2 separate regions of the Homo sapiens genome follow, and region 1 is linked to region 2. Evidence: promoter capture Hi-C in 16 types of primary human blood cells and fetal thymus (Javierre and others, 2016). All regions are on one chromosome and are shown on one strand. The core of a region is centred on a gene start or on the middle of the fragment in contact, and the rest is flanking DNA. Distances in the headings are between cores, read along the strand shown.

The links. Contacts are between HindIII fragments. The CHiCAGO score rates a contact against its expected background, and 5 or more counts as called.
Region 1: a contact is called between the fragment with the promoter of H4C7 here and the fragment with the promoter of H3C2 in region 2, in 6 of 17 cell types (erythroblasts, fetal thymus, neutrophils and 3 more). The highest score is 14.3, in erythroblasts.

The regions. Positions count from the first base shown.
Region 1 is chr6:26,244,872-26,250,647 of GRCh38, reverse strand. H4C7 (H4 clustered histone 7) reads left to right here and starts at 3,652. Exons shown (of 1, transcript NM_003547.3): 1 at 3,652-4,037. The coding sequence starts at 3,671. The coding sequence ends at 3,967. H3C7 (H3 clustered histone 7) reads left to right here and starts at 13. Exons shown (of 1, transcript NM_021018.3): 1 at 13-506. The coding sequence starts at 43. The coding sequence ends at 453. RefSeq lists enhancers at 131-290, 591-960, 1,101-1,180. The HindIII fragment of the contact is 5,476 bases long and covers 1,034-5,776 here.
Region 2 is chr6:26,029,694-26,035,392 of GRCh38, reverse strand. H3C2 (H3 clustered histone 2) reads left to right here and starts at 3,294. Exons shown (of 1, transcript NM_003537.4): 1 at 3,294-3,804. The coding sequence starts at 3,333. The coding sequence ends at 3,743. H2AC4 (H2A clustered histone 4) reads left to right here and starts at 1,775. Exons shown (of 1, transcript NM_003513.3): 1 at 1,775-2,301. The coding sequence starts at 1,825. The coding sequence ends at 2,217. RefSeq lists enhancers at 858-917, 1,248-1,297, 1,701-2,330, 3,268-3,387, 3,428-3,657 and 1 more and a silencer at 1,818-1,917. The HindIII fragment of the contact is 2,287 bases long and covers 1,030-3,316 here.

The sequences.
Region 1 (5,776 bases), core at 2,403-4,902, 210 kb before region 2:
AACTGTTTGTTCAGTTGTGACCATTGCTTGAAACCCATTCCTATGGCACGCACGAAGCAAACAGCTCGTAAGTCCACTGGCGGCAAAGCCCCGCGCAAGCAGCTGGCCACTAAGGCGGCTCGCAAAAGCGCGCCAGCCACCGGTGGCGTGAAGAAGCCCCACCGCTACAGGCCTGGTACTGTCGCCCTCCGTGAAATCCGCCGCTATCAGAAATCGACTGAGCTACTGATTCGCAAGCTACCATTCCAGCGTCTGGTACGTGAGATCGCGCAGGACTTCAAGACCGACCTGCGCTTCCAGAGCTCGGCTGTGATGGCGCTGCAGGAGGCCTGCGAGGCTTACCTGGTGGGGCTCTTTGAGGACACCAACCTGTGTGCTATCCACGCCAAGCGAGTGACTATCATGCCCAAGGACATCCAGCTCGCTCGCCGCATTCGCGGAGAGAGGGCATAAGTTGTACTGAGGGTGTGCGCCAACTTAAACCAAAGGCTCTTTTCAGAGCCACCAACAATTTCAGTTGAAAGCGCCGTAGCACTAGGGAGTAATGTCTCCTAAAACAAGGAGGGTGGAGGGTTAGGGGATGGGGGCAGGGCCGGTGGCTCTTCTAAACTAGGCTTTTGTGTCTTGGCCATTGTCTTCAAAATGGCCGATAGTGGCGGCTCACGCCTTGTAATCCCAGTACTGTGGGAGCCCGAGGAGGGCGGGTTACTTATACAAAGGTCAGGAATTCGAGACTAGTCTGCCTAACATAGTGAAAACCCGTCTTCACTAAAAGTACAAAACCAAAAAACAAAAATACGGGTGTGGTGGCGCCCTCCTGCAGTCCCAGCTATATCGGGGGCTGAGGAAGGAGAATCGCTTGGACCTGGGAGGCAGCCGTTGAAGTAAGCCGAGATCGCGCCACTCCACTCCTCCATGGGTGACAGCGAAACCCTGTCTCAAAACAACAAAACAGAAAATGGTTGTGTGCTGAGGCAAAACCAAAACTACAGGGACAAAGGAAACAACTTGTTGACAAAAGTGTACGAAAGCTTTATTTGTGACAGTATGGGGAGTTAAATCATTATTATTCTTTTTGGCTTGCCCTGAGAGTTCATTTGAGACATCAACAGGAGAAACGGATACAAGTTAATATAATACAAATTTTACTTGGCATGGGAGCCTTCCAATTAAAACCCCGAGGTGCAGGTGAAGCTGTACACTATGCTCAGGGAAAACGGGGTTCAAGGAAATATTATTGCAACTTTTTTTTTTTTTTAGGCGGAGTTTCGCTCTTGTCAGCCAGGATGGAGTGCAGTGGCGCAATGCGGGATCCCGGCTCACTGGGACCTCCGCCTCCCGGGTTCAAGCGATTCTCCTGCCTCAGCCTCCCGAGTAGCTGGGATCACAGGCGTGTGCCACCACGCCCGGCTAATTTTGTAGCTTTAGTAGAGACGGGGGTTTCACCATGTTGGCTATGATTGGTCTGGAACTCCTGACCTCAGGTGATGTGACTCCTTGGCCTCCCAAAGTGCTAGGATTACAGGCGTAATCCACCGTGCCCAGCGCAATTTCTTGTTATTCTAGTAATTTAATCAGCCTGGCCAACATGGAGAAACCCTGTCTACTATAAATACAAAAAATTAGCCGGACGTGGTAGCAGGCAACTGTAATCCCAGCGACTAGGGAGGCTGAGGCAGAAGAATCACTTGAACCTGGGAGGTGGAGGTTGCAGTGAGCCGGGATCGTGCCACTGCACTCCAGCCTGGGCTACAGAGTGAGACCCCGCCTCAAAAAAAAAAAAAAAAAAAAAAAAAAAAAATCTAATTATTTCAAAATAATGTAGAAATAGGCTGTGATGGGATTGCTGCTTTTATTGCTTGGAATTCCATGGTTTATCAAGTTTGTTTGTTTGTTTTCCCCACAAATAGTTGTTTGCACTCTTGGCTTTTTGTTGTGGTGACCTGCTCATTAGGCCATAATTCATTTATGCAGTTACATGATTTTTTAGATATTGCTGACCCTGCTTCAAAAACCCATGATCTTTAGGACTGTTTGTTTGGTGCATCGTAACTGCACAATAAAAAATCCATTGTTATTTTGAACATTCTATTTTAGAGACATCATTTATTTCCACTTAAATGCTCTCGTTTAACTAGCTCAGCAAGTATTTTGTAATGTAAAAATTTAGTGGTGCTTATGTCTTTATTTTGGCTTGTGAGCAAATTCCCCTTTTCTCCTATTAACATTTATGACAGCTTTCCCTGAGTTTCCTGTTGTATCAACCCCAGAAGACAGTCACCCCCTGTACCTTCTGTCCTCCACATGAGAACAGGGCATGGAGCCTCTGGCAATTTACATTATCTTTTTTCTGGGCAATTCTTCATTGCTTAATTGTATAGTGCTTAATATAAGTGAAAGCACACTGAATGTATTGGTGTTGCAAAGGCAATGTTTTAAAATCCTTCGGTGTGCTTTACCTCTGCATTATTATTTTGTCTGTAAAAAAAGGCTGTGGCAATAAGAATTCGTTTACCAACTGGCCGGTGAGGTGGCTCACGCCTGTAATCCCAGCACTTTGGGAGGCCAAGGCGGGCGGATCACCTGAGGGCAGGAGTTGGAGACCAGCCTGGCCAACGTGAAATCTGGTCTCTACTAAAATACAAAAATGAGCCGGGAGTGGTGGCACATACCTGTAATTCCAGCTACTTGGGAGGCCGAGGTAGGAGAATAGCTTGAACCCAGAAGGTGGAGGTTGCAGTGGGCAGAGATTGCGCCATTGCACTCCAGCCTGGGCAACAAGAGCGAAACTCCGTATTTTAAAAAAAAATCATTTACTAACTATATGCCAGTGTTTTGCTTAAAGTAACTCAATTATTAACAAGTATTTACCCTTTTTACAGATAGGGCCATTGAAACTCAGATTAACATGTCTAATATCGGTGAGAGAGCAGTCACTCACAGATTCGAAACCAAAAACCAGGCTACTTCTCTTTAGCTGGGCGGCTTGGCAATATGATTAGGAATTCTTTTATGTCTTGGAATTTGGGCTTGTTTCAACTTCAGCATGGTAAATGCTCTAATATACAGGGAAGGAGTAAATCTTTTTTTTTTCTTTTTTGAGACGGGCTTCGCCCTTGCCCAGGCTAGAGTGCAGTGACGTGATCTCGGCTCACTGCAGGCTCCACCCCACGGGGTTCATGCCATTCTTCTGCCTCAGCCTCCTGCATAGCTGGGACTACAGGCGCCCGCCACCTCGCCCTGCTAATTTTTTGTATTTTTATTAGAGACAGGGTTTCACCGTGTTAGCCAGGATGGTCTCGATCTCCTGAGCTCGTGATCCGCCCGCCTCGGCCTCCAAAAGTGCTGGGATTACAGGCGTGAGCCACCGCGCCCGGCCAGGAGTAAATCTTTAAACACATACAGACATCAAAAATCGAGATACTTTCCTCTAGGTACATGTTTGACACTTTCGTTTAGAGATCCTTATTCTCTAAATGCCAGCAAATCTCCCTACTACAAGAGAATTTCTTATGTCTTGTTATTACTAGAAGTAGATGAGCGGGGACTGAATACGTTTTCCCGCCTTTCCTGGTCTTTCAGTTTTCAAAAAGGTCTACTCTACCGTTATATAAAAGGCTGCGGAAAGCGAGTAATCGTTTTGTTTAGAGATAGTTCTGACTTGTTTATCATGTCTGTTCGGGGCAAGGCCGGAAAAGGCCTTGGGAAAGGCGGTGCCAAGTGCCATCGCAAGGTACTGAGCGATAATATTCAGGGCATTACCAAGTGCACTATCCGGCGCTTGGCCCGGCATGGCGGTGTCAAGCGCATCTTGGGCCTCATTTATGAGGAGACCCGCCGGGTGTTCAAGGTGTTCCTGGAAAATGTGATCTGGTACGCCGTGACCAACACGGAGCACGCCAAGCGCAAGACGGTCACCGCCATGGCCGTGGTCTACGTGCTCAAACGCCAGGGAAGAACCCTGTAAGGCTTTGGCGGTTAAGTGAGGCCAGGCCTTTCCTTGCAATATCGTTAATGGCCCTTTTCAGGGCCGCGTACGTTTTCTTCCGAAGGGCTCACGTTTGACATTGTGGAAACTTAACTAACGCACTCAGCAATATTGTGTGTTTTATTGCTGTAGGTGCCCAAAAGCTGTTAGGTGTATAATGCTGTAAAGTATAAATTTACGCCAAGGCTGACATACAACATGGAATACAGGTGGTAAGTTAATCGTGTGTTCAGAGATTAGAAATCTGGTGGGCTGGCTGAGGACATCAACGGCTACATTGTCACTTAAAAGCTCTCAAAATGTGGTTATGGTAGTGTGTTTTTCTCCTTACTGTTAGGATTACCCTCCGTAATTAAAATTGTAGTTTTAGTGCCAAGATAACCCGACTTTTATATTCTGCTTAATAAGCAATTTCAATAACCAGAGAATACACAATAATTAGCACAAACTTGCCAGGTGCCGTTCTGACAAATGTGTCTGCAGTGGAGGGACTGGCCCCCTTGCTAGTTCAATGATCTAATTTAGCAGCACTAAAAGAAGTTTACCTGTTTCGTGCCTTTGCTTGTGATCCATCGTAAATATAGAAACACCTTGATAAGGTGTAACTGCAATAATTCGTGTCTCAATTTACTGTTTATGAAAGTACAGGGGTCAAAGAGCCAATTAAACATCTCAAGAGGGGGAAAAAACCTTCCAGAATGTGGAACATTTGGGACAATTGCTTTGTTCAAAAAGCCACCGAGAAAAACTGGAGGACTTTAAGTTTGAAGGAGATTAAAGTAACATAGCAACTAAATGTATTAATTGCATTCTGTCTCTAAAGTTTTAAAGGGCATTTTGGAGATAATCAAGGAAACTTGAACGTGAACTGGATAACAGGTCATTTTAGTAAGTTTTTAAAGAAAGGTTTGATATATTGAGATTACATGGAATTTCCCTTATTGTTAGGGGTTAGATGCTGAAGTGTGTAGGTGTAAATTCTCATGAGTCTGTCATTTACTTTCGGATGGTGGTAAAATCCACTCTATTGAATGTAGGTAGTGGATGACTGATAAACCCATCTTTTGTTATGTTTTATTCTGAATATTTTTATAATAAAAATTTGGGAAAAATTAACATAATAAACTGTTACAAACTCTGGTGCCATCACGGGAGAGGTCTCTGAACAGGTAAGTGTAAAAGACCTGTCTGCAGAGAGAGGATGCAAGTAGCAGGACACTGAGCCGCATGACACTTGTCATATGCAGGCACATTTATTCCTCTTGCTCTCACTCATCATGATCAGCTGTTAGCCAGAGGGGAGGGACATGGGAACAGGGCAGTTCAGGTACTGTTGGGAGAGGGTAGGTCTCCACTAGTGTGAAGACACAAGGGGCAATAAGTAGTTTGATGCCATGGAGACTGGGAATACATATATGACCAAAGATGCATGCCTGGCAGTTGCCTGATTGAGGAGGGCCTCCTCTTGCAAATTGAGAAACTGAGAATTAACCTTATGCTGTTGGAAGCATGTTAATGAGGTGTGACATGGAGAAACTTGCATTTAAGTTACATCAATTCTTTTGGATATTATGGCCATAAACTTTGTGCTGTGTAGTGAAAATATTGGGTTCTGCTAAGGTCAAGACAGGAAACAAGTAGCTTACTCACATGGGATAATTGGAGGAGGGTTTCTTAAAGAAATTATTTGCAAATTAAGGGCAGGATACAGAAAACTAAAAAAGTAGTGCCTCCATCCAGGTCTAGTAAGGATCACTTATAACCCTGAAGGGGCATGGGAAGCAATTG
Region 2 (5,699 bases), core at 2,045-4,544:
GGTTCCTCAACAGGAGAGCCAGACAATGGCTGTAATAATATTGTCCCGGCCAAGGAAAAACTTCCCCTTTGCCCTCCCAAGGTTTATGGAAAATTACTGGCAAAACACAGATTAACTGGAGAAAAGGCATATATATTTATTTCATCACAATTTTACAGGAGATTTTAGAATTAAGACTGAAAGATACAGGGGAAATTGCCCATTTTTATGCTTAGGTTCAACAAGATAAACAGCTGTATAGGGTACGATCTAATGCTAACAGACTGAGTGGGGAAGCCCCGCAAGGCTTGTCTGTCAAGATTCTTCTTGACCTCTCAGTGCAGCATTTCTTCCTTCTGGTTATAGGACAAGACTCTCTTTTAGAATGGGGGGTCTTATGACCTACAGGCAAACAAGGTAGGTTAGAGTAATACTTTTAGGTTTTATGGCTGGTTCTAGGGAAAAGGAGTTCTGGTTTGTATGGCCTACCTTGAGGAGGAATTCTGGTTTCTATGGCTAGACTTTGGGGAGAATGGGACTTACAGACAGGAAGGCAGAAGGTGGTCAGTGAAACACTTTTATAATCATAATCCCATTTTGAGTATTTCTGTGTTATGGAATGTTTGTTCTCTCATTTCCTGAAAGATTCCAGAGACTCCTCATTCAGTGTTGTGAAAAAGTTCAGGAAATGCAACTCAAAAATGTGCCACTTTGTTACGCTGATTTCTTTGAACTGAGGGCACCTAGGAAACAGTAAATTCAAGGAAGGGCTTTCGCTGAACTCTAATCAAAAATTTGAAAATTAAAAAAAAATTCAAAAAGGAATTTAGTTGTTAAGATTCACTTCCCTGGGGAATCTCATCAACCAGAGAAGATTAACTGTATCACAGGAGAGGAGACTGGTGGTTAACACCATCTAAACAGACTTTGTCACAGCTGTCACCTATTCTTTGAAACACCCATTTATTTTTCTCCAAAATCATATACTCTCCCCTAAGTTGCCTACATCCCCCTTCTTTCTCCCTTATGAATCAAGAGAGCTTATAAGCTTCTACAGTTCACTGGGATTTGGGGTATTCGCTTTTCTTCCCTCCCACTCCCCCTCCCCTTTTTTTGTCTTTGAGACACAGTCTTCTGGCTCTGTCGCCCACGCTGGAGTGTGGTGGCTCTATGTGAACTCACTGCAACCTCCTCCTCTCGGGTTCAAGCGATCCTCCCACCTCAGCTTCTCGAGTAACTGGAACTACAGGCGTGCACTACCAAGCCCGGCTTTTTTTTTTCTTTTTCTCCCCCGTTTCTTTTTTGGTTATTTTACTGGAGACAGGGTTTCTCCATGTTGTCCACGCTGGTCTCGAACGCCTGACCCGCCGTCCTCGGCCTCCCAAAGTGCTGGTATTACGGGCATGAGCCACTGCGCCCGATTTGAAGGACCTCTTAAATATCTATTTAGAAATTGGTCGGAGTCCACTCCTTTCCAAAAACATGAGTCACAATCCGGGAAAAGCACGAGCGGCTGAAAGTCAAAATAACCAGAACAAAACCTCCACTCATGCTTAAAAAAGGTATTTTGACAAAATCCTAATTCGGCCAATTATTATTAGTATTCAAGTCGAAGGCTCGTCAAGCCAGACTGGGGATTGGGTCAAACATAAACCTTACACCAGACGGAAGGATTACATGCAAATGAAGGATGCAGATTCTGATTTCCCATTGGGTATTTGACATTAGCCAATGGGAGAATTCCTCACAGCCTACCTCCAGTCAGTATAAATACTTCTCTGCCTTGCGTTCTAATGTAGTTTCATTACATTTTCTTGTGGCGATTTTCCCTTATCAGAAGTAGTTATGTCTGGTCGCGGCAAACAAGGCGGTAAAGCTCGCGCCAAGGCTAAGACTCGGTCTTCTCGTGCAGGTTTGCAGTTTCCTGTGGGCCGAGTGCACCGCCTGCTCCGCAAAGGCAACTACTCCGAGCGCGTCGGGGCTGGCGCGCCGGTGTATCTCGCGGCGGTGCTTGAGTACCTGACCGCCGAGATCCTGGAGCTGGCGGGCAATGCGGCCCGCGACAACAAGAAGACCCGCATCATCCCGCGCCACCTGCAATTGGCCATCCGCAATGACGAGGAGCTTAATAAACTCTTGGGGCGTGTGACCATCGCGCAGGGTGGCGTTTTGCCTAATATTCAGGCGGTGCTGCTGCCTAAGAAAACTGAGAGCCATCATAAGGCCAAGGGAAAGTGAAGAGTTAACGCTTCATGCACTGCTGTTTTTCTGTCAGCAGACAAAATCAGCCTAACAGCAAAGGCTCTTTTCAGAGCCACCTACGACTTCCATTAAATGAGCTGTTGTGCTTTGGATTATGCCGCCCATAAAGATGTTTTTGAGGTGTTTTTAATGGCTTTGAGTGTGGCACTTTTAGTAATTTGTCCTGCAGAAATTAGATCCATAGAAACCTCAGGAATTCTAGGTATGTGGGAGAAGTGCCATGCAGCACAAAACATGTTTACAGGGGTGATTCGCGTTAAGTTTCACACACAGCAGTTACTACATTTTAGAGGAAGGAAATTATACCCATGAGTGCATTCCTAACTATCTTGAATGGAAGTGTTAAAACCCGCATGCCCCACACAAGTTTGAATATGTCATACCATTTGCTGTAGCAATTAATGGCATACACAATTGAGAGCACACACATTACCACTGAACATTTGAGTATGTATTTCCCAAAATGAGCTTTTTTCCAGTTTGGGGATGTTTTGCTTTGTTTTGGGGTGGAGTCTCCCTCTCGCCCAAGCTGCAGTGCAGCGGCGTGATAACAGCTCACTGTAACCTCGAACTCGGGCTCAAGCGATCCTCTTGACAGCCTTCTGAGTAGCTGGGATTACAGGCGAGAGCCGCCACGCCCGGCTAAGAGCATTTTTCTAATTGCCCACACTTCTTATGCGACACCCAGAAAAATACAATTTTAAATAAAGCGCATATGCAAATTTCCCTAATCGTCTCCAATATTCTCTGATTTCTTTTTTATATTTTAACTAGAAACAATTGGAGGTTTCCGCGTTGCTTTGTGTGGTTGTAAATTTTAAGACTTCAGGAAACTTTTCCAGTACAAGACTTGTCCACAGTGGATATAGCAGCTAAGGGGTTAACAAAATGACGTCAGAGTAGCTACGGTAATGGGCAGGAGCCTCTCTTAATCTGCAACCAGGCACAGAGATGGACCAATCCAAGAAGGGCGCGGGGATTTTTGAATTTTCTTGGGTCCAATAGTTGGTGGTCTGACTCTATAAAAGAAGAGTAGCTCTTTCCTTTCCTCCACAGACGTCTCTGCAGGCAAGCTTTTCTGTGGTTTTGCCATGGCTCGTACTAAACAGACAGCTCGGAAATCCACCGGCGGTAAAGCGCCACGCAAGCAGCTGGCTACCAAGGCTGCTCGCAAGAGCGCGCCGGCTACCGGCGGCGTGAAAAAGCCTCACCGTTACCGCCCGGGCACTGTGGCTCTGCGCGAGATCCGCCGCTACCAAAAGTCGACCGAGTTGCTGATTCGGAAGCTGCCGTTCCAGCGCCTGGTGCGAGAAATCGCCCAAGACTTCAAGACCGATCTTCGCTTCCAGAGCTCTGCGGTGATGGCGCTGCAGGAGGCTTGTGAGGCCTACTTGGTAGGGCTCTTTGAGGACACAAACCTTTGCGCCATCCATGCTAAGCGAGTGACTATTATGCCCAAAGACATCCAGCTCGCTCGCCGCATTCGCGGAGAAAGAGCGTAAATGTAAAGTCACTTTTTCATCAGTCTTAAAACCCAAAGGCTCTTTTCAGAGCCACCCACTTATTCCAACGAAAGTAGCTGTGATAATTTTTTGTTGTCTTAACAGAACAAATTTCTAAGGACCCCCCCGGAAAGCATTAGACTATGGTCTTAAAGTTGATTAACAGAAATAACGGTTTGGTCAGTCTTGCAGTGTAGGTTATTTCTGACCTTATTAAGGTGCTATTTGGAGAGAAGCTGTGTAAGTCCACTATCATTCAGGCCTCTAGCTTGCTATGATTAGCATTTGTTTAAACAACTTTGTAAGAGTAAGGGAAAAATCTGGTAAGTAGTTAACTGGCGCTTACTAGGCATTTTTGCAAAGCTTTGAAAAGATTAGAAAATTGTGTCTTGCGAGTTCCAGTGTCTTCCTCAAAATGCTTAGGAAGATTTTCTCAGCTCAATACATAGTCCCCTAGGTTTTCTCATATATTATATATATATATATATATATATATACTGTTAAATTCATTTGGCTGTTAACATTAACCTGAAATTTATTCTGGTGCAAAATGTGAGGCAGGGATCTAACTGGCTCTCATTTTATCCATAGCTAGCTACCCACTTTAAATCTGTCAGTCTGTCGACCAAGCATAATTTAATCCCTTATATATGAATTTTTATATGTGTGGCTTTGCTTGTAAATAGTCTATCTGGTTGCATTGCTTTGTCTCCTCTAGGACTATGCACCATGACATGCCACATTCTTTTTTTCAGTACTTCTTGCCTGTAGTTATTAAAATCTAGAATTTACAAGTTTTAACCATTTTCTTTCTGTTGATCTTGCTTTTCGGTTTTGGAGGTTGGGGATTGAGTACTGGAAGAAAATTTAGAGGGATGGGAATACTGTACGCAAACAAAAGTAATATTTACTTTAAAATTTTTATATTTTGTATTTTTTTATCATATAGCTTTTACATCACATTTTACAGACTAACTTTAGAACAACCACAGAATGTCCAACATTAAAACTACTAATTCCAAAGACCTTGCCTCACATTCTTTTTTACAATAAATATTTTTTACACCTAACATTCTTTCTTGGCCTACATCTAGAATGTAAACTGATGTACCATACTAAAATCGCCTGACCAACTGTCAACAACAACAAATCACACACACAAAAGATTAAATTTGAATTGCATCGTTTACTTAAATTCATTTGTGTTCCAGCTTTTAATAAGGCAGTTTTTGGTTTATAAAGTAATATTTGCATTTTAAAAATTATGAAAATGAATATGTCAGTTTGTTTTATGATTCGTTTTTCTTGACTCTTATACAAGCGACTCTAACTGGCATAGACATTTGTTATCCACAGACAGTATAGATATGTTAGAGATGCCAATGGACTTGGTCTATGCCAAGGTGACTACTCACAAGCTCTGGGCCCAGCTGAAGGTCAAGTATTTTTTTTCCAGTTATAGATGTGCTGGATCTGATGTATAGCGCTTGACTTTTTATATTTTCTTTATCTGTAGGAAACAAATGTGTTGGAGGTACTGGGTCTGACGAATAGCATAAAAGAATAAAGTTACATTACTGTCTGAGGATCAGATGGACAGGGGGTGGTAGCTCAGTCCAGCTATTTTCCACTCCCTCACTTACATTCTTTGCCCCCTCCTCAACAGAACAAGGATTCTGCTGTAACTCTTCATTGACAGTTGATATTTAAAAATTAACGAATGGATGAAATTCTCATTTGTGAAAGAAAATTTATTGAGCATTTTGTATTTGTGAGTAGTGCAAACATTTTAATATTATATTAAGAATCTATTGTTTTGTATTAGAGGAGTAATTAAGGAGAGATTGGAGACAAAAAGGGGGTGTTGTTTGCAGAATATACCATCCAAAAATAGACCACTGTGGGATCAGGATTCTTTTGAGCTAAAGGCACTTCAAAAACAGCATTCAAGAAGGG